4 separate regions of the Homo sapiens genome follow, and regions 2, 3 and 4 are each linked to region 1. The links are contacts of gene promoters, found by promoter capture Hi-C in human tissues and cell types (Jung and others, 2019). All regions are on one chromosome and are shown on one strand. Each heading gives the region's core, a stretch centred on a gene start or on the middle of the fragment in contact. The rest is flanking DNA. Distances are from core to core; before and after follow the strand shown.

Region 1 (4,503 bases), core at 1,364-3,863:
AACAACCCTTTTCTCTGCCAGTCAATAACATTATCCCCTACCTTGCCCCAGCAATTTGAGTAACCAAGTACAGGTAAACATGAAATAGTGGCCAGGCGTGGTGGCTCACGCCTGTAATTCCAGCATTTTGGGAGGTCAAGGTGGGCCGATCACCTGAGGTCAGGAGTTCGAGACCAGCCTGGCCAACGTGGCAAAACCCCATCTCTACTAAAAATACAAAAATTAGCTCAGTGTGGTGGCATGCGCCTGTAATCCCAGCTACTCAAGAGGCTGAGGCAGGAGAACTGCTTGAACCCTGGAGGCAGAGGTTGCAGTGAGCCGAGATCGTGCCATTGCACTCTAGCCTGGGCAACAAGAGCAAAACTCTATCAAAAAAAACCAAACAAAATCACGAAATAGTTACTGTTTAAATGTAAATGATCCTTACTAAACAATGGGAATTTTAGTCTATAAAAAGAAAATTAAGTCTTCCAGTGTTCAATATGCATGACAACTACAACATCTAAGGCATCTATACATACTCAATCTATTAAGGGCAATTTAATATTGTAACTGATCCAAATACAACATACATCATTAAAAAATAAATTATGTAAGGAAATCTTTCACATGTACCCAAAGACAATAGTACGATAAACTCCCATATACTCTGTGCCTGGGTTCTACCATTATTGAGATTTCACTGCGGCTGCTTCAATGTCCTTTTCTTTTCATTATTGGTTAAAAAATACCATTTCACCCTTACATACTTCAGAATGCATCTCTAAAAATGAACATTTCCTATATAACCATGATGCCATTTTTATATCTAACAATATTATCTATTAATACAATAATTTCTTTGAAGTATACAGCATTTTAAAATCTAACAAGTTGGCCTGACCAAATTGTGATCCCAGAATTAGCCACTTAGTGGCTACATAACCTTGGGCAAGTTACTTAACTTCTCTAAGCATTAGTTTCCTCACCTGTAAAACGATAGCAACTGCATTTTAACATCTTGGAGTGGTGAAGATTAAACAAGACAAACTCTGTAAAGTACTGAGCACAAAGCCTGGCCCGTTGTAATCACTCAACAAACATCAGCTCTCATTAACACTGTAAACCACATTTCAAATCATGGTGCTGTCCCTGCCTATGAAATAAACAACTAAAAGTGTTACTTTAATAGAGTTCCACCTTAAAGACAGTAATTAAAGGTTCAACAGAGGCCCTTTGTACCTCCTTACTGCTTTTTGAAAAGTAAGATTTGTAAATAAACAAGAATAATGAGGTTGGGCTCAGTGGCTCACGCCTGTAATCCCAGCACTTTGGAAGGCCGAGGTGGGCAGATCACCTGAGGTCGGGAGTTCGAGACCAGCCTGGCCAACATGGCGAAACCCTGTCTCTACTAAAAACACAAAAATTAGCTCGGCATGGTGGTGGGAGCCTGTAGTCCCAGCTATTTGGGAGGCTGAGGCGGGAGGATTGCTTGAACTCGGGAAGCAGAGGCTGCAGTAAGCCGACATTGCGTCACTGTACTCCAGCCCTGGGGACAGAGCCAGACCCTGTCTCAAAAATAAATAAATAAGAATGATGAATAAATTACAGTTGCTAGTCTTAACAAGGAAAATGGAATTTGGAGTCAAGGGATTTCAAGTCCCAAGGCTTGAATTCCAGTGTTGGGTTAGCCCTTCATTCATGCACTCAACAAATAATTTATTGAGCGCCAGTGGCTGGGCCACAGACCTCCAGGCAAGGAGCACATATTCCACTCCAGGAAAACAGGCAGTAAGCCGAGTACACAAAGGCAGGTCGTCTTACACTGATGGACGCGAACCTTGGGCAAGCCCACTTCCAGACTTTTTGGTACAGTGGAGTTGTGAGAGCTCCTTCCTCTACTCGCCAGGTTGTGTAAATTAAGGACACCCTGAGAGGTAAATGGGAAAGCAGCTCCCCAGACGCCAATCGTCCTCCTTAAACAGTAAGCACCGGGTACGCGCTACTCTGTGGCCCGGGCTGAATAACAAGGTGTTATTGGGTTAAGGAAACGGTCGTGACGCCGTTTTCCTCTAGTGTATTGTTTCACTTTTTTTTTTTTTTTTTTTTTTTGAGACGGAGTCTCGCTCTGTCGCCCAGGCTGGAGTGCAGTGGCGCGATCTCGGCTCACTGCAAGCTCTGCCTCCCGGGTTCACGCCATTCTCCTGCCTCAGCCTCCCGAGTAGCTGGGATTACAGGCGCCCGCCGCCACGCCCGGCTAATTTTTTTTTTTTTATTTTTAGTAGAGACGGGGTTTCACTGTGTTAGCCAGGATGGTCTCGATCTCCTGACCTCGTGATCCGCCCGCCTCCGCCTCCCAAAGCGCTGGGATTACAGGCGTGAGCCACCGCGCCCGGCCTGTTTCACATTTTAAGTAGACACCGTTCTTGAGAAGCAATAGATTTCGACCAATGTGCACCGTTCCCGCGGCGCCCCGCCGCGCCCGGAACCGCTGCTTACCTGGCGCCCGGCAAGGAAGGCTGCCGGAGGGTTCATAGGTGTTTCCTCCGCCCCCGGAGAAGCCCGGTGTGGGCGGCGTCACCTCAGAAACGCCATCGGCGCGCCTGCCCCGAGCGGCGGGGGCGAGCCCGGAGCCCCGGGGCCCCGCGCCCTCGGCCGACCCCCGCCCCGTACTCCAACCGCCTGCCTGGTGCCCACGCGGCGTGCGCCCGCCGGGGCTCGGGGCTCCCCGCCAGGGTTTCCGGGCCGCAGCCCCGCTGCGCTGGTGGGCACTGTTCTTCTGCCTCGGAAACTGGGGGCTCCCAAGTGGCTCAGGCTGCGTATGGACGCTTTTTGCCCACGCCCGAGGCTCCGGCGCTGGAAGGCCTGAAAGAACCGGCTGTTCACCACTACCCAGAGAATGAAGAAGTCAATAAAGGCTGCTGCGCCGCCCCCAGCACTCTGGTTTATGACATTTGAGTTGCTCACTTCCCTATCTTCCATCTTCCCCCTAATAACCGTGAGCTCGGCCGTGCTCGCTCCTGTGTAGCTGGCTCCCAGAACAGGACCTGACACTCGAATGCGTGGAGGCAGAGCCCAGCCCTCGGGGATAACAGTTGCGGGCTACCCTAGCACCTTTGATACTTTAAACCAAGAATCACAGATGAAGAGGGGGAAATTTACTCTTGGGAGCTCCTGAAAAGCAATGAGGAGAACCACGGTACTTTGTCATGACAAAATCTACGATATTCTGGGTTGAATCTAAGCTTTTTCACCTGTTCTTCCATAGTCACCTCTTCATCCCCCTTTCACTCTTCCTAAGATGTGGGAACGGGACTAGGAAAAAATAAGGCTTATCACACTTCAGCCCCGGCTGCCCATCCCTGAATGCTTAACCCATCAGACAGCAACACAATTACTAAATACGGTCGGTCTTACAGGGTTTCAACTTTACTTTTTGGTTGAATATGAAATGCCAAAACATGCCCTTGTGTTCAAAAAATACAATCTGAAAATGGAAAAACAAAATTAAGATTTCTTATTTTGAAGCTTTACTGATAGGCTCATGTTTGGGAGACCAAAGCAATGTCTTAGAATTTAAAATCAAGAAAGCTGGGCGCAGTGGCCTGTAACCCCAGCACTTTGGGAGGCCAATGTAGGAGGATCTGTTGCGTTCAGGAGTTTGAGACCAGCCTGAGCAACATGGTGACACCCACCTCTAAAAAACTTTTTTTTTTTTTTTTTTTGAGATGGAGTCTGGCTCTTGTTGCCTGAGCTGGAGTGCAATGGCACAATCTCGGCTCACTGCAAACTCTGCCTCTGGCCTCAAGCAAATCTCCTGCCTCAGCCTCCCGAGTAGCTGGGATTACAGGTGCCCGCCACCACGCCACCTTTGTTGTATTTTTAGTAGAGATGGGTTTCACTACCTTGGCCAGGCTGGTCGCGAACTCCTGACCTCAGTTGACCCACCCACTTCAGCCTCCCAAAGTGCTGGGATTACAGGTGTGAGCTACCGCACCTGGCCAAAAAATAAATTTTTTTTTAAACTGGGCGTGGTGGTGCACTCCTGTGGTCTCAGCTACTCACGAGGCTGACTTGAGCTGGGAGATGGCGGCTCCAATGAGCTGTGATCATGCCACTGCATTCCAGTCCGATCGAGAGTGAGACCTTGACTCAAAAAAACAAAAATCAGGCCAGACGTGGTGGCTCACGCCTGTAATCCCAGCACTTTGAGAGGCCGAGGAGGATGGATCATGAGATTAGAAGTTTGAGACCAGCCTAGCCAATACAACGAAACCCTGTCTCTACTAAAAATCAAACAAACAAACAAACAAACAAAAACTAGCCACGTGTGGTGGTGCGCACCCATAGTCCCAGCTACTCGGAAGGCTGAGGCAGGAGAATCGCTTGAATGCAGGAGATGGAGGTTACAGTGAGCCAAGACTGCGCCACCTCACTCCAGCCTAGGCAATAGAGGGACACTCCGTATCAAAAAAAAAAAAAAACAAAAAAACACCAACCACCACTACCACCAAAACCCAAAAC
Region 2 (4,503 bases), core at 1,447-3,946, 640 kb before region 1:
GTTGCCGTGAGCCGAGATCGTGCCATTGCACTTGAGCCTGGGCAACCACAGTGAAACTCTGTCTCAAAAAAAAAAAGAAATTTTCAGAACAGAAGACCATGGTGACTGGAACAGGGAAGAGAATGGAGGTGGGATTGGAGAGGTGGGAGGGGCTGGGTCACCCAGGGCCACGTGGATTCTTTCTGGTGCTGACTGTGGGTTTTATTCTAGGTACGTTGGGAAGAGACATTGGATGGTTTTAAGCTGGAGAGTAACATGACCGTATTTATGTACAAAAAGCTCACTCTGGTTGCCTTGTGGAGAAGGGTTGGGAGACAGGGTCAAAGTAAGGCCAATGGGGGTGTTTCTTTTTTCCTTTTTTTTTTTTTGAGATGGGGTCTCACTCTGTCACCCAGGCTGGTGTGCGGTAGCTTGATCTCAGCTCACTGCAACCTCCGCCTCCCAGTTTCAAGCGATCCTCCCACCTCAGCCTCCCGAGTAGCTGGGACCACAGGTGTTCACCATCATGCCCAGCTAATTTTTGTATTTTTGGTAAAGATGGGGTTTCTCCACGTTTCTCAGGCTGGTCTGGAACTCCTGAGCTCAAGCAATCCGCCCGCCTCAGCCTCCCAATGTGCTAGGATTACGGGTGTAAGCCACTGCACCCAGCCTAATGGAAGTGTTTCTTCCACAAGGAAGGGTCTTCTGAGGTAAGATAATGAAAGAGCACCTCCACCCAGGTGTCCGAAGTGAAGGTGTTCATTTAGGACTTTCATTGGCTGTCTTGTTGCAAATCAGGCTTCCAGAAGGCATAAACTACTGGTTTCTTTCAGCGTCCTTCTACGGGAGCTTAGGACACCTAATTGGAGTTTGAGCCTAATAGAGCAAAAGTGAAATGTGTGTTCTGTGCATGAGCTAGCCTGAGGACATGTGGCTAGTGGCTAATGAGCGTGAGGCCACCCTTTCAGGGTCAGATAAACTTAATGAGCTACTAGAATCAATGAGTGAATGAATGAACGAATGAATGTGTTTTTTTGTTTTTGTTTTTGAGACGGAGTCTCAATCTGTCACCCAGGCTGGAGTGCAGTGGCACCATCTTGGCTCACTGCAAGCTCCGCCTCCCGGGTTTATGCCATTCTCCTGCCTCAGCCTCCCGAGGCAGCTGGGACTACAGGCGCCCGCCACCACACCCGGCTAATTTTTTGTATTTTTAGTAGAGACGGGGTTTCACCGTGTGAGCCAGGATGGTCTCGATCTCCTGACCTCATGATCTGCCTGCCTCCGTCTCCCAAAGTGCTGGGATTACAGGCATGAGCCACCGCACCCGGGTTTTTTGGGGTTTTTTTGCTTTTTCTTTTTCTTTTGAGATAGTGTCTTGCTCTGTCGCCCAGGCTGGAGTGCAGTGGCGCAATCTCGGCTCACTGCAACCTCTGCGTCCCGGGTTCAAGCGATTCTCCTGCCTCAGCTTCCTGAGTAGCTGGGATTACAGGTGTATGCCACCACGCCTGGTTAATTTTTTTTTTTTTTTAGAGATGGGGTCTCACTATGCTGCCCAGGCATGTCTGAGACTCCTGGGATCAAGTGATCCTCATCCTCTTGCCTCAGCTTCCCAAAATCATAGGATTACAGGCGTGAGCCACAATGCCTGGCCTGGACATATTTTTGAGTCAACAGCTGCAAGAGCTACTTAGAAATTTTACGGGGGTTGCTGTGCCCCTTGCTTTGTTCCTTCTGCTTACCCTGAACCCTCTCTCTCTCCACACCAGGTTCTTTTTTCGATCGGGGAAACAGACCTAGATCCAAGGCCACAAGTAAGGCTATGGCTCTGATTCTAGAAGACAACCTTCCAAGATGCCTGGCAAAACCACCTCCCTGTGCCACACAGACACACTAGGCCTGTGTATTTATTTCCCCTTCAAAGCAGACTGAGGAGGGAGGAGACGAGGTTCTCTTGGCATCACTTTCTCCCTGGCTGCAGAACTAGACACCCTTGAAGATTTGGCCTGGGCCAGTGAGACTGAAATCAAGAAAAACAGAAGGGATGTGCAGGGTGGGGGGGTCCACTTCCTGCTCCCATGTCAACCCCCAGGGCCTCCAGCGTGCAGACGCGTGTCCTACTCATCTGCTCCCACGGATGACCCTGGTCTTCAATGGTTAGCAGAAGGGAGAAAAGAAAGCAGGAAAATGTGCTATTGAGATTCCAGTGGTGACTTCACTGATATTTAGTGAATATTTGATTTAGCCAACATGCCTTTCTTTATGTGATTTTGTATTAAAGTAAAATGATTTTTATACTTTCTATAGCTTATCTAGAGTGGTCTCTTAGTTACGATGGTACACATGGTATATGTGTGTATATGTCATATATCTACATTTCATTGTATAATGAATCAATTGCATTCATTCAGTCTAAGCGATGCACGATTATCTGGTGTCACTATGAAGGGAAAGATTGCTGCAAACTAAAATGTTAAGAAGCTATCGATTTTAGGACTCATCCTGATTTCAGAGGTGTTAAGATGTGAACAAAATGCATTTAGGAATCAATGAAACAGAGAGCGGGTGTCTGCACTTCGCAAAGGAACTAATGAGGCTGCCGCAACCATTCCGTGAGCCTGTCTTCTTAGTAAATAACAGTGGCTTACTCAATGTGTTTCGCCTGCTCTGTGGATTATCTCATTTGTTCCTCATAACCTGGGGAGATGGGGACCGGTACCGGTGCACCAGTTTATAGATTTTTTTTTTTTTTTTTTTTGAGACGGAGTCTCTCGCTCTGTCGCACAGTCTGGAGTGCAGTGGCACGATCTCGGCTCACTACAAGCTCTGCTGCCTACGTTCACGCCATTCTCTTGCCTCAGCCTCCTGAGTAGCTGGGACTACAGGCACTTGCCACCACACTCGTCTAATTTTTTTGTATTTTTAGTAGAGACAGGGTTTCGCCGTGTTAGCCAGGATGGTCTCGATCTCCTGACCTCGTGATCCACCCGCCTCAGCCTCCCAAAGTGCTGGTGAGAGGTGACAGCGTGCTGGCAGTCCTCACAGCCCTCGCTCGCTCTCGGCGCCTCCTCTGCCTGGGCTCCCACTTTGGCGGCACTTGAGGAGCCCTTCAGCCCACCGCTGCACTGTGGGAGCCCCTTTCTGGGCTGGCCAAGGCCGGAGCCCGCTCCCTCAGCTTGCAGGGAGGTGTGGAGGGAGAGGCGCGAGCGGGAACCGGGGCTGCGCGGGGCGCTTGCGGGCCAGCTGGAGTTCCGGGTGGGCGTGGGCTTGGTGGGCCCCGCACTCGGAGCAGCTGGCGGGCCCTGCCGGCTCCGGGCAATGAGGGGCTTAGCACCCGGGCCAGCGGCTGCTGAGGGTGTGCTGGGTCCCCCAGCAGTGCCAGCCCACCGGCGCTGCGCTCGATTTCTCGCCGGGCCTTAGCTGCCTTCCCGTGGGGCAGGGCTCGGGACCTGCAGCCCGCCATGCCTGAGCCTCCCACCCCCTCCGTGGGCTCCTGTGCGGCCCAAGCCTCCTCCACGAGCCCCACCCCCTGCTCCATGGTGTCCAGTCCCATCAACGACCCAAGGGTTGAGGAGTGCAGGCACAGGGCACGGGACTGGCAGGCAGCTCCATCTGCAGCCCCGGTGCGGGATCCACTGGGTGAAGCCAGCTGGGCTCCTGAGTCTGCTGGGGACGTGGAGAACCTTTGTGTCTAGCTCAGGGATTGTAAATACACCAATCGGCACTCTGTATCTAGCTCAAGGTTTGTGAACACACCAATCAGCACCCTGTGTCTAGCTCAGGGTTTGTGAATGCACCAATCGACATTCTGTATCTAGCTACTCTGGTGGGGCCTTGGAGAACCTTTGTGTCCACACTCTGTATCTAGCTAATCTGGTGGGGACGTGGAGAACCTTTGTGTCTAGATCAGGGATTGTAAACGCACCAATCAGCGCCCTGTCAAAACAGACCACTTGGCTCTACCAATCAGCAGGATGTGGGTGGGGCCAGATAAGAGAATAAAAGCAGGCTGCCCCAGGCAGCAGTGGCAACCCGCTCGGGTTCCTTTCCGCATTGTGGAAGCTTTGTTCTTTTGTTCTTTGCAATAAATCTTACTACTGCTTACTCTTTGGGTCCACACTGCTTTTATGAGCTGTAATACTCACCCCGAAGGTCTGCAGCTTCACTCCTGAAGCTAGGGAGACCAGGAGCCCACCAGGAGGAACGAGCAACTCCAGACGCGCCGCCTTAAGAGCTGTAACACTCACCACGAAGGTCTGCAGCTTCACTCCTGAGCCAGCGAGATCACGAACCCACCAGAAGGAAGAAACTCCGAACACATCTGAACATCAGAAGGAACAAACTCTGGACACGCCACCTTTAAGAACTGTAACACTCACCGCGAGGGTCCGCGGCTTCATTCTTGAAGTCAGTGAGACCAAGAACCCACCAATTCCGGACACACTGGGATTACAGGCGTGAGCCACCGCACCCGGCTTTTTTTTGGGGGGTGGTGGGGACGGAGTCTTGCTCTATCGCCCAGGCTGG
Region 3 (4,628 bases), core at 413-2,912, 550 kb after region 1:
ATGTTCAGAAAAAAACAAGAAGGGGCTTGAAATACCCACTAGTGTGCCGCCTGCTCAGCCCATCTGGGTCTGTGAAACCACATCTGAGCCCTGTGGGCTGTGGTGGCGACACAGGCAGAGGGCGGGCAGGGTTGCCAGCGCCCCGCCTGGGCTAGGAACGCCTGTGCGCAGCTCCCTGAGAGCTCGGGGACCACGCGGAGGTTGTAATTGGTCTCTAGACCACACCTAGTTGTTGAGTGCCGCTGCTTGAAAATCTCAGTTCTGCCGAGATCGCAGAATACACACAAGCTACCTTTGGGCACCAGAGCAGACAGAACCGCGGAGCTTCAGGGTGGAAGATTCGTGGAAACTTTGCCAAGTAAGTGAGGTGGGGAGAGAAGGAAGCCAGTGCCTGACACTGTGGGGAGTGGCTGGGCAAAGCAGCATTGGAGGTGTTGTAGGGTTCCTACTGTCTGATGAGCTGGTGTGGGGTTCTTACTGTCTGATGTCGTCTCTGGTGGAAGTTAGCAGGGCTGGGGCAGATGCACAGAGCACGGTGGCGGGGGTGAGCCCAGGATCGGATTGATGCCCACCCACCACCTGGCACCCTGCAGTCCCAGCTGGCCAGAAGGCAAGCATGCTGGACCACAAAGCAAAGATCCTCCAGCTCTGCTGCTGGCAAGCCTTGGGGCCAGGGGACTCACAGAAGAGCAGGTTTGGGCCTGTGCCTTCCTCCTGCCCAAATGGGTCTCTCTCCCCTTCCCCTTCCAGCCAGGGCCGCAGCTGGGGCTGCAGCTTGAGTGACGGGAAAAGAAAGGTTTACTCCACCAGCGCATTAGCGGCACTCACAGCATTAAAAATGCAGGAGGTGGTGGGAGGAGCGGGCCAGGGAGGAAAACTCATGCAGCTGCGGGGCGCGGGGAAGAGCCGGGCTTCTGCCTCCTCAGCCCGGATCAGAGCCGAAGAACGAGGGCAGTTTGGGTTGAGAAGGATTCTCCAGTGTAACCGAGAAGCGAGCGTCCAGGAGGCTGTTGGGGAGGTCGGCACTGTGGGCTTCCTGGCCTTCGTTTGCTGTTTCGAGGGCCAGGACCTCGTGTGTTCCCGTCCGCCCCTCTGGGACGGCGCCAGCCCGGCAGGCCGCCGACCGTCCTGGGGCTCCCGCGCAGCGCGATGCCGGCCTCGTCCACCGTCCACGTGCTGCAGCTGCTGCGGGAGCTGCTCGCCTTCGTGCTCCTCAGCTACACGGTGCTCATCGGGGCGCTGCTGCTGGCCGGCTGGACCACTTACTTCCTGGTGCTGAAGTGACAGCGCCGTCGCCGCGCCCGGCCCCGCCTCCCGCCCGGCCCCGCCTCCCGCCCGGCCCCGCCTCCCTAACTCACCAGGAAATTCCCTTCAAGCCCTGGCCCGAACTGAGTCCCCGCCCACCCGCCAGCGTCACGGCGCCCGACTCAGCTCCGCGCCGGACCCACCTCCGCGCCCTCAGGCCCTGCATATGCCCCGCCCCGCGCGGAAGTTCCGGCGGTTGGTTGCCTTGCGCGGCCGTTACAGCCTTTGCCCTAAGCCTCGCCCCCTTTCCCCCTGCCTGCCCAATCCCGACTGCTTCCTTGGGTGGGGGCGTGGCTATGGGGCGAGGCGCTCTCAGGTGGAGGCCGTGCCCCGCTCCGCGCTCACGAAGCTGCGTCACTTCCGGCGTGTGCGTCTGGCGTCCGCGCGCTGCACAATGGCGGCTCTGAAGAGTTGGCTGTCGCGCAGCGTAACTTCATTCTTCAGGTACCGCTGCGGCCGCGTAGAGGGGACAGGACCAGAGGGAGGGACCGACGCGGACAGCGCTGTGGCCCGGCCCACGGCGCCCGCCTTCCTTACGCGCTCATCTCTCGTCCGCCCAGCTGGGTCGCGGCGTCTCGCTCCGGTCGGGAGGACTGAGGACAGCCCCGCCTCCGCCCCCTGGGTCAAGCCCGGCTTCCTTTTCAGTTCGTCCATCTTCTAGAAACGAGTCCCCGAGACCCCGGGCTGCCTTCTTGGGGCTGCTCCGCCTCCTGACCAGCCCTCGTCAGCCACTCGAAGTCCCTGAGGAGACGTGGAGAGGAGGAGGGACACGGCATGGGGGGAGTCCGGGAAGGGAGACGAGCGTCTGAAGACGTCCTCCCGAGGGCAGAAGGGGCCGGGGGAGCTGGCGCAGGGCTCTCTACCTAGCGCTGCAGGCTCCTGGGCGATTGTAGCGGGACCGTCACACACAACTGGCACCCAGGCCAGGGGTCCAGAGCTAAATTCTGCCTGCAGGAGCGGTTATTGTGGCATCCGTTTCTAAAAAGTTTAAAGGCAACATTTTATTTTATTTTAATTTTTTTGAGACAAGATCTGCCTCTGTCGCCCAGGCTGGAGTGCAGTGGCGAGATCTCAGCTCACTGCAACCTGTGCCTCCCGGCTTCAAGCGATTCTCAGCCTCAGCCTCCCGAGTAGCTGGGATTGCAGGCGCCCGCCACCACGCCCGGCTAATTTTTTTTTTTCTTTTTGTTTTGTTTGAGACTCAGTCTCGCTCTGTTGCCCAGGCTGAAGTGCAGTGGGGCGCTCTCGGCTCACTGCAACCTCTGCCTCCCAGGTTCAAGCGATTCTCCTGCCTCAGCCTCCCGAGTAGCTGGGATTACAGGAGCGTGCCACCACTCCGGGCTAATTTTTGTGTTTTAAGTAGAGATGGGGTTTCACCATGTTGGTCAGGCAGATTTCGAATTCCTGACCTCAAGTGATCCACCCGCCTCGGCCTTTATTTACTTATTTTTTTTTAATAGACACGGGGTCATGTTGCCAGCCATGTTGCCCAGGCTGGTCGTGAACTCCTGGGCTCAAGTGATCCTCCCGCCTTGCCCTTGGCCTTCCAAGTGCTAGGATTACAGGCGTGAGCCACCAACACCCTGCCTGAGGCAACATTTTAAACTTGGTGTATGTTGAAAATTTCAAAACCCCTCAGCTGTCCTGCATCCTCATTTAGGTTCCTGCTTGGCTCGAGTTTGAGTTTACAGCCCCTGCAAGTAAATCCAAGAGCCTGTTACAGATTGGCGGTCGTGCCTTATGAAATCTGACTTCTACTTCCAGGTACAGACAGTGTTTGTGTGTTCCTGTTGTGGCTAACTTTAAGAAGCGGTGTTTCTCAGAATTGATAAGACCATGGCACAAAACTGTGACGATTGGCTTTGGAGTAACCCTGTGTGCGGTTCCTATTGCACAGGTACTGTCGTGTGCAGTGATTCTTATCTAGTGTACCGTGTCCTCTTGAAGTCTCAAGTGGGCGGTGAAGCATTAGACAAGCTACCATAGTTTTTCCCAGTGCTCCCATCCCTTCCCCCACAGTACCGGCATCTTTTCACAGTTGAGCAGATATATTAATATTCTCATTTTGATTATCTCATTTGGTAGGAACAGCACATCAAATTGTATAAAGCGAGTAGAGAGAAATAAGAGGATATTACAGTCTATCAACAAAGTAGTCTTTGATTCAACAGAAATTTATTGAGCAACTTTTATGTGCAAGACACTGAGAATGTAAGAATGAACAACAAAAAATTCTTGTTCTCACAAAAGCTTTGTGGAGATGAAAGAGGATAAAATATAAAATATCAGCTGGTGATAAATGGTGGGAAGAAAACAGGGCCGGGCACAGTGGCTGATGCCCAGGGCTTTGGGAGGCTGAGGTGGGAGGATGGCTTGAGCTCAGGAGTTTGAGACCAGCCTAGTCAACATAGGGAGACTCTGTCTCTACAAAACAGAAAAATTTAGCCGGGTGTGGTGGCTCACACTTCTAGTGGCAACTACTCAGGAGGCTGAGGCAGGAAGATCACTTGAGCCCAGGAGTTTGAGGCTGCAGTGAGCTATGATCTCACCACTGCTCTCCAGCCTGGGTGACAGGGCAAGACCTTTTCTCAAAAACAAAACAAAACAAATGAGGTAAGTGAATAGGCAATTCTGGGAGGGAGTTTTGTTTTAGATAAAGGTGGTCAAGCTACTCTGATAAGGCGAAGTAGAGATCTGAATGTTCTGAAAGAGCCATTATACTATCTGGTGCGGGGAGGAGCTTGCCAGGCAGAAGGAACTCAGAAGGACAAAGACCTAGAAGCAGAAGTATGCCTGGTATGTCTGAGGAGCATGGAGCTAATGTGTCTGGAGGCGAATGGGGGAGACCGTAATAGATGAAGCCAGAGAGTTAACTGATAATCAGATTGTGTCCTTTGTATTTTGTGGGCCATTGTTGTAAGGCTTTGGGTTTTCTGAAAAAGAAGCCGCAGAAGATATTTTTTTTTTTTTTTTTTAAAGACAGAGTCTCACTCTGTTGCCAGGCTGCAGTGCAATGGCACAATCTTGGCTCACTGCAACCTCCGCCTCCCAGGTTCAAGCAATTCTCATGCCTTAGCCTCCGGGTAGCTGGGATTACAGGGGTGTGCCACCGCACCCAGCTAGTTTTTGTATTTTTAGTAGAGATGGGGTTTCTCCATGCTTGTGAGGCTGGTCACGAACCCCTGACCTCAGGCGATCCACACGCCTCGGCATCCCAAGGTGCTGGGATTACAGGCCTGAGCCACCGTGCCCGGCTGTCACAGAGGATTTTTAACACAGAACTATTATGATCTGACATAAATTTTAAAAGTTAAAAGGTTGCT
Region 4 (5,175 bases), core at 1,589-4,088, 560 kb before region 1:
AACTCCTGACCTTGTAATTCACCCGCCTTGGTGTCCCAAAAATGCTGGGATTACAGGTGTGAGCCACCGCAGCAGCCTTAAACTTCTGGATTTTTAAATAATGGGAAAATAAGTTCAGAATTTTCTTCTAAATGTAATTTGACTTTTTCCTCCTCAGCTGATGTAAGCAATGGTACAGTAAAGAAAGAGTCTTCTAATAAAGAAGGAGCTAGAATGTGGATAAACGACATGAAGATGAGGAGTTTTTCCCCAACCATGGTGAGTTTCAAATAACTGTGTCTTTATTTTTGTGTAGTATGAGAGTGTACTCAACTAAAAGTGTTCTATATGGAACAACCCTCAGAAAGCTGTTTTTGGGTTGGGAAGAAGCTATACAGGCGTGGGAACTAATGGATATGCTTAAACCTCGCTGGAGTAATATAGATACTAACCAGGGTGGTTAAAACTTGCAGATTGATGGAGTGTGGCACTAACATGCAGTACTGATATCTTACTGTTAAAAATCTCATCTGAGCAGAAAAAAAGACAATGTGGGGTTAACGAAAAGTATTTGATAACTGTGTTCATTTTAGGACCGAACTTGAATAGAAAGCTCATAATGCATTGACAGATCATATAATGATCTGGTTATGAGTGATTCTTTTTTTTTTTTTTTTTTTTTTTTGAGACAGAGTCTTACTCTTATCGCCCAGGCTGGAGTGCAGTGGTGCTATCTTGGCTCACTGTAACCTCCACCTCCCAGGTTCAAGTGATTCTCCCACCTCAGCCTCTCAAGTAGCTGGGATTACAGGCATGTGCCACCATGCTTGGCTAATTTTTGTATTTTTAGTAGAAATGGGGTTTCACCATGTTGGCCAGGATGGTCTCGAACTCCTGACCTCAGGTAATCTGCCCGCCTCAGCCTCCGAAAGTGCTGAGATTACAGGCGTGAGCCACTGCACCCGGCCTGGTTAGAATTCTTAACATTTTGAAAATGCTGTATGCTTTGGATCAATTGATTCCATACATTTATTTAATAAATTCTCCATGTATAACATTGTTAATATGTAGTAGGTTTCTACAAGAAGTATATTTATTACATGATTCTACCTTCAGTAAGCAAAATTTGACAACCATCTGGATTAAGTAGTAATAATGAAAAGTACATCAAATGGTATGCAATGTGCTACTCACAATAAAGGTTAGGAATTTGGAGGAAGAGGTGACCTTCCTGAACTCTAGTGGCCTGGTGGACTTTATGGAGAGGGAATAATGGAGCTTGGGTTTTGAGTATGACGAGACTTTGAGGTGGGATATTAGGAAGGGAGCTAAAGGATTAATGGGCACAGAGGGGAGGTAGTGAGTATGTGCTTCGGTGAAAATAAGCCAGGAAGCTTAGCTTGTAGAAAGAAGTGGGAATAGTAGGTCTGGGCTCCATGGAGGGTCCTGAATTGAGGTTTTTATTGTTGTTGTTGTTTTTGAGATGGAGTCTTGCTCTGTTGACCAGGCTGGAGTGTAGTGGTGCAATCTTGGCTCACTGCAATCTCCGCCTCCCAGGTTCGAGCGATTCTTCTGCCTCAGCTTCCTGAGTAGGTGGGATTACAGGTGCCCACCACCAGCCCTGGCTAATTTTTGTGTTTTTAGTAGAGACGGGGTTTTACCACATTGGCCAGGCTGGTCTCGAATACCTGACCTCAAGTGATCCCTCCAGCTCGGCCTCCCAAAGTGCTGGGAGGCCAAGGTGCCCTGTGCTGAATTGAGTTTGAAGGACTTTGGACTTAGTCTAGCACCATTGAGCCAGTAGACATGGAGGGACCTGTTAGTGATTCAGGAGAAGTTGGGGTGCAGACTGAGTAAAGGGGTAGGGAAGACAGATTCGGGATGAGTAGGAGTAGGCAAAAGAGAGAGGTTGGAAAGTTGGTTAACCTAAGGGGGAAGTAAGAAGGGGTACTAGAGACCTTGCAGAGGGGATTGAAAAACGGAGAGGGGAAAGGAAAAAAAGAGATGACTGTACATAACGATACCAAAAGAATTTTGGGACTTGGTTCTAGAATATGGAATTGGAGACAGTGCAGCAAACTGTAGCTGAGGTTTTGAATGGGAACCAGGAGAACAATAGTGCTACTGGCGGTACCCAGTTTACTTAGTGATTGTCTACCAACAGCACTTGGAAGGTGATTTTTGGAAACTAAGAATGCATATTTCTTCAAGAAATGTTTTATGTGGTTCTCACATTTCCATTTCAGTCCATTATATACCAAAAGTTTTTTATTGGCTTAGCAGTTAAGTAACATCTCAGAGAGACTGCAAACTGATAGCCCATCAACCAAACTAGTCGGGGAGGGGGGGGGGGGCGTGTGTGTGTGTGTGTGTCGGGGTGTGTGTGTGTGTGTGTTTAGACGGTGTCTTGCTGTCACCCAGGCTGGAGGGCAGTGGTGCAATCTCAGCTCACTGCAACTTCTGCCTCCCAGGTTCAAGTGATTCTTCTGCCTCAGCCTCCTGAGCAGCTGGGATTACAGGCGCCCCCCACCACCACCACCACACCCAGATAATTTTTGTTTCTTTTATTTTGTTTATTTATTTTGAGATGGAGTCTCGCTCTGTCACAGGCTGGAGTGCATTGGTGCAGTCTTGGCTCACTGCAACCTCCCCTTCCCGGGCTCAAGCAATTCTCTTCCTCAGCCTCCCAAGTAGCTGGGATTACAGGCGCCCGCCACTACGCCCTGCTAATTTTCTTTTGTATTTTTTAATAGAGATGGGGTTTCACTACCTTGGCCAGGCTGGTCTTGAACTCCTGACCTCGTGATTCACCCGCCTCGGCCTCCCAAAGTGCTGGGATTTCAGGCGTGAGCCACTGTGCCTGGCCTGTATTTTTTAGTAGAGACGGGGTTTTGCCATGTTGGCCAGGCTGGTCTTGAACTCCTGACCTCAGGTGATCCGCCCACCCCTGCTTGCCCAAGTGCTGGGATTACAGGCGTGAGCCACCATGCCTGGCTGACAAATGTATTTTGTTTGGCCTTCATGGTATTTTGAAGAATTTTGAATTTGTTTGCTGACATATACAAATCCTGATTTCCCGGTTATTTTGAAAAATGGGAGTACCTGACAACCCCAGGCCCACGTTCCCCATCTAGGAAGATTTGCCCAGCGTTGTGTAGTGAACATCTACATGGTATGTTGGGCAAACATTTCCCAGGTACCGTGGTCTCCCTCACCCGAGTTATCTCTTTGACCTAAATTTGATGTCAGTTGCTATCTCACATGCACCTGGCTTCAAGGTATTACTTGTTTGTTCCCTGGATATAGTGGTCCTTCAGTATTACCAACTTATCCTTCAGTTATTCAATTATCATCAATTTTATGATGATTTTAAAAAACTATAGGTAGGAGAATAAAGGATGGAGGGAGAAAGGAGGCTGCTTATCTTAACATAGAATACATTTTTATTTTATAAGCGAGGACAGGGTTAGACGGTGGGGGTGGAGAGGACCCAGAATTTAGGTAATTTGCCTAAATTAAAAAACAGACTACACAATTAAATAACAGCAGAATTGGGATTCAAATCTATTCATTTGGCCAGTCCTGTTTTGTCTCGAATTTCCGAAATTGAGTTTTATTTTAGCATAATTTCTGAGAACATTCCAAGTTTTTAGATTTTATCTAAAGACTCCATAGGTTAATGTTGATTGGATGGTTATGTCCCACTTCTTTTCCTTTTCACGTTTGTTATCTATTTGCAACCATATTCTGCTCTAGATTCTGAGGTAAATGAAAAAAGAGCCTGTCCTTCACTTTTAATGCTGTCTCGATCTTGCCTTAATTTGCCTTAACCTGTAGGTTTTTGTTGTCCTCTTCCCTTGGCATACTGAGTTTCACAACAGTTTCTTTATATTCTTCCCTGAACAAGTGCATGCTAATAAACAGTTGCCTAATGATTGTACTGGTAGTGAAAAGTGGCTTATTCCGGATCTTCCTTTATTCCTTTAAGATCCTGTAGAGGAAGAAAAGGGAAGCATAACCGTGGTGACCATTCACTTGGTTTGCCGAGGACAGTCTGGGTTTACTTCTGTTTTCTCAGTGTAATCCTCAATAGCTCCCCAACTCAAATGTGCCAGGGTTTGGAAAATAAATTATATGGCCATCTTATATATGATCACGATTGCATCTGTGGAGACACAGAAGTCTGAAGTAAATTTTTCTGTTCTTCATAAGGGCCTCTAAAATAAACTCCAGTCTTCTGGGGTTTTGGTTTTAGGATATGCGGGAAAGCAGGCAAATAGAAGTGAACTGAGAAGAAGGTGGAATGTGAGACTGAGAGGCCTTGCTTGTGGTGATGCAGGGTCCTTTGGGGCCAATCCACCTTTGCTAGGGTTCACTCCAGTTTTGCACTAGGAAGAGCCAGACACACTGCTTGCTCTTTCTCCTGGAACTAGAATGAAGGCGAAGTCTGAGTGCAGAGAGAGTTCTGGGCATCAAGGAGGGGTGATAGGCAGTATTGAAGGGGAAAGTAGCTTGACACGATGGTGGCCGGAAGGACGTGGAGTCTTGTGACCCATTTGTGGGTAAGAGACAGAGTAGGACCTCATTGTCTGTGCTCATTATTGGAGAAGCAGGAAAGCCACGAAGTGTGGCCCAGATTTTAGGGAGTATTGAGGTGGCGCGTCATGTTTCCATGATGGAAATTTGTAGGTGTTCCTACAAGAGAGTTTTTCTGTGTGTTGGCTGGGCGTCTGGTCCCTGGATTTGGGATTGATTGTGCTCTTTCTGTGTTGCAGAAGGTTCCTGTTGTAAAAGAAGATGATGAACCAGAGGAAGAAGATGAAGAAGAAATGGGTCATGCAGAAACCTATGCAGAATACATGCCAATAAAATGTATGTCTTCGGGATTTGTCAGATATTTACATCAAAGTTTTCCTGTGGTTTCTTTGGTTCTTTTTGTTTTGTTTTTTTCCATATAAATTTAGAATCTTGCTTTAGGTCAAAGTCTTTTAAAACCAAAACTAAAGAAGCTTGGATTTTATTTTAATTTTGTTCATAGGAGTAGTGATTATAAAAATCAAAGGTAATTGTAAAGATATATAAAGCTAAGATATTTAATACAACTTGTCTAAAATTGTAAAAACATTGAAATTATAAAAATAATTGTGCTATTTGAATTCCATAGTTTTTGTTTCTCCCTTTTGTATAACATGGTTC

What was found. The method cuts DNA at HindIII sites, captures the fragments that hold promoters and counts their contacts. A contact is called where the count stands out against the background at its distance.
Region 2: a fragment that was not itself captured here is called in contact with the fragment with the promoter of CCDC62 in region 1 in 1 of the 25 tissues and cell types used here (spleen).
Region 3: the fragment with the promoter of DIABLO here is called in contact with the fragment with the promoter of CCDC62 in region 1 in 6 of the 25 tissues and cell types used here (aorta, dorsolateral prefrontal cortex, heart left ventricle and 3 more).
Region 4: a contact is called between a fragment that was not itself captured here and the fragment with the promoter of CCDC62 in region 1, in 1 of the 25 tissues and cell types used here (psoas muscle).

The regions. Positions count from the first base shown.
Region 1 is chr12:122,772,682-122,777,184 of GRCh38, reverse strand. It overlaps CCDC62 (coiled-coil domain containing 62), which reads right to left and starts at 2,613. Exons shown (of 13, transcript NM_201435.5): 1 at 2,479-2,613. The coding sequence starts at 2,514. RefSeq lists silencers at 1,749-2,043, 2,566-2,775 and enhancers at 2,246-2,385, 1,773-2,466. The HindIII fragment of the contact is 10,219 bases long and covers 1-4,503 here.
Region 2 is chr12:123,413,164-123,417,666 of GRCh38, reverse strand. RILPL2 (Rab interacting lysosomal protein like 2) reads left to right here. Exons shown (of 4, transcript NM_145058.3): 4 at 1,746-2,628. The coding sequence ends at 1,776. Among named protein-coding and RNA genes, the nearest start is that of RILPL2, 21 kb to the left of the region's middle. The HindIII fragment of the contact is 7,685 bases long and covers 1-4,503 here.
Region 3 is chr12:122,223,086-122,227,713 of GRCh38, reverse strand. DIABLO (diablo IAP-binding mitochondrial protein) reads left to right here and starts at 1,662. Exons shown (of 6, transcript NM_001371333.1): 1 at 1,662-1,749; 2 at 3,070-3,202. The coding sequence starts at 1,700. It overlaps LOC128125816, which reads left to right and starts at 1,150. Exons shown (of 1, transcript NM_001414998.1): 1 at 1,150-1,284. The coding sequence starts at 1,150. The coding sequence ends at 1,284. It overlaps LOC101593348 (a long non-coding RNA gene), which reads right to left and starts at 1,272. Exons shown (of 1, transcript NR_103497.1): 1 at 1-1,272. RefSeq lists enhancers at 1-516, 517-1,348, 1,298-1,592, 1,646-1,885, 1,896-1,945 and 1 more and a silencer at 1,216-1,355. The HindIII fragment of the contact is 13,255 bases long and covers 1-4,628 here.
Region 4 is chr12:123,336,071-123,341,245 of GRCh38, reverse strand. It overlaps SBNO1 (strawberry notch homolog 1), which reads left to right. Exons shown (of 32, transcript NM_001167856.3): 5 at 158-258; 6 at 4,755-4,851. Among named protein-coding and RNA genes, the nearest start is that of MIR8072, 26 kb to the left of the region's middle. RefSeq lists a silencer at 1-78. The HindIII fragment of the contact is 4,997 bases long and covers 340-5,175 here.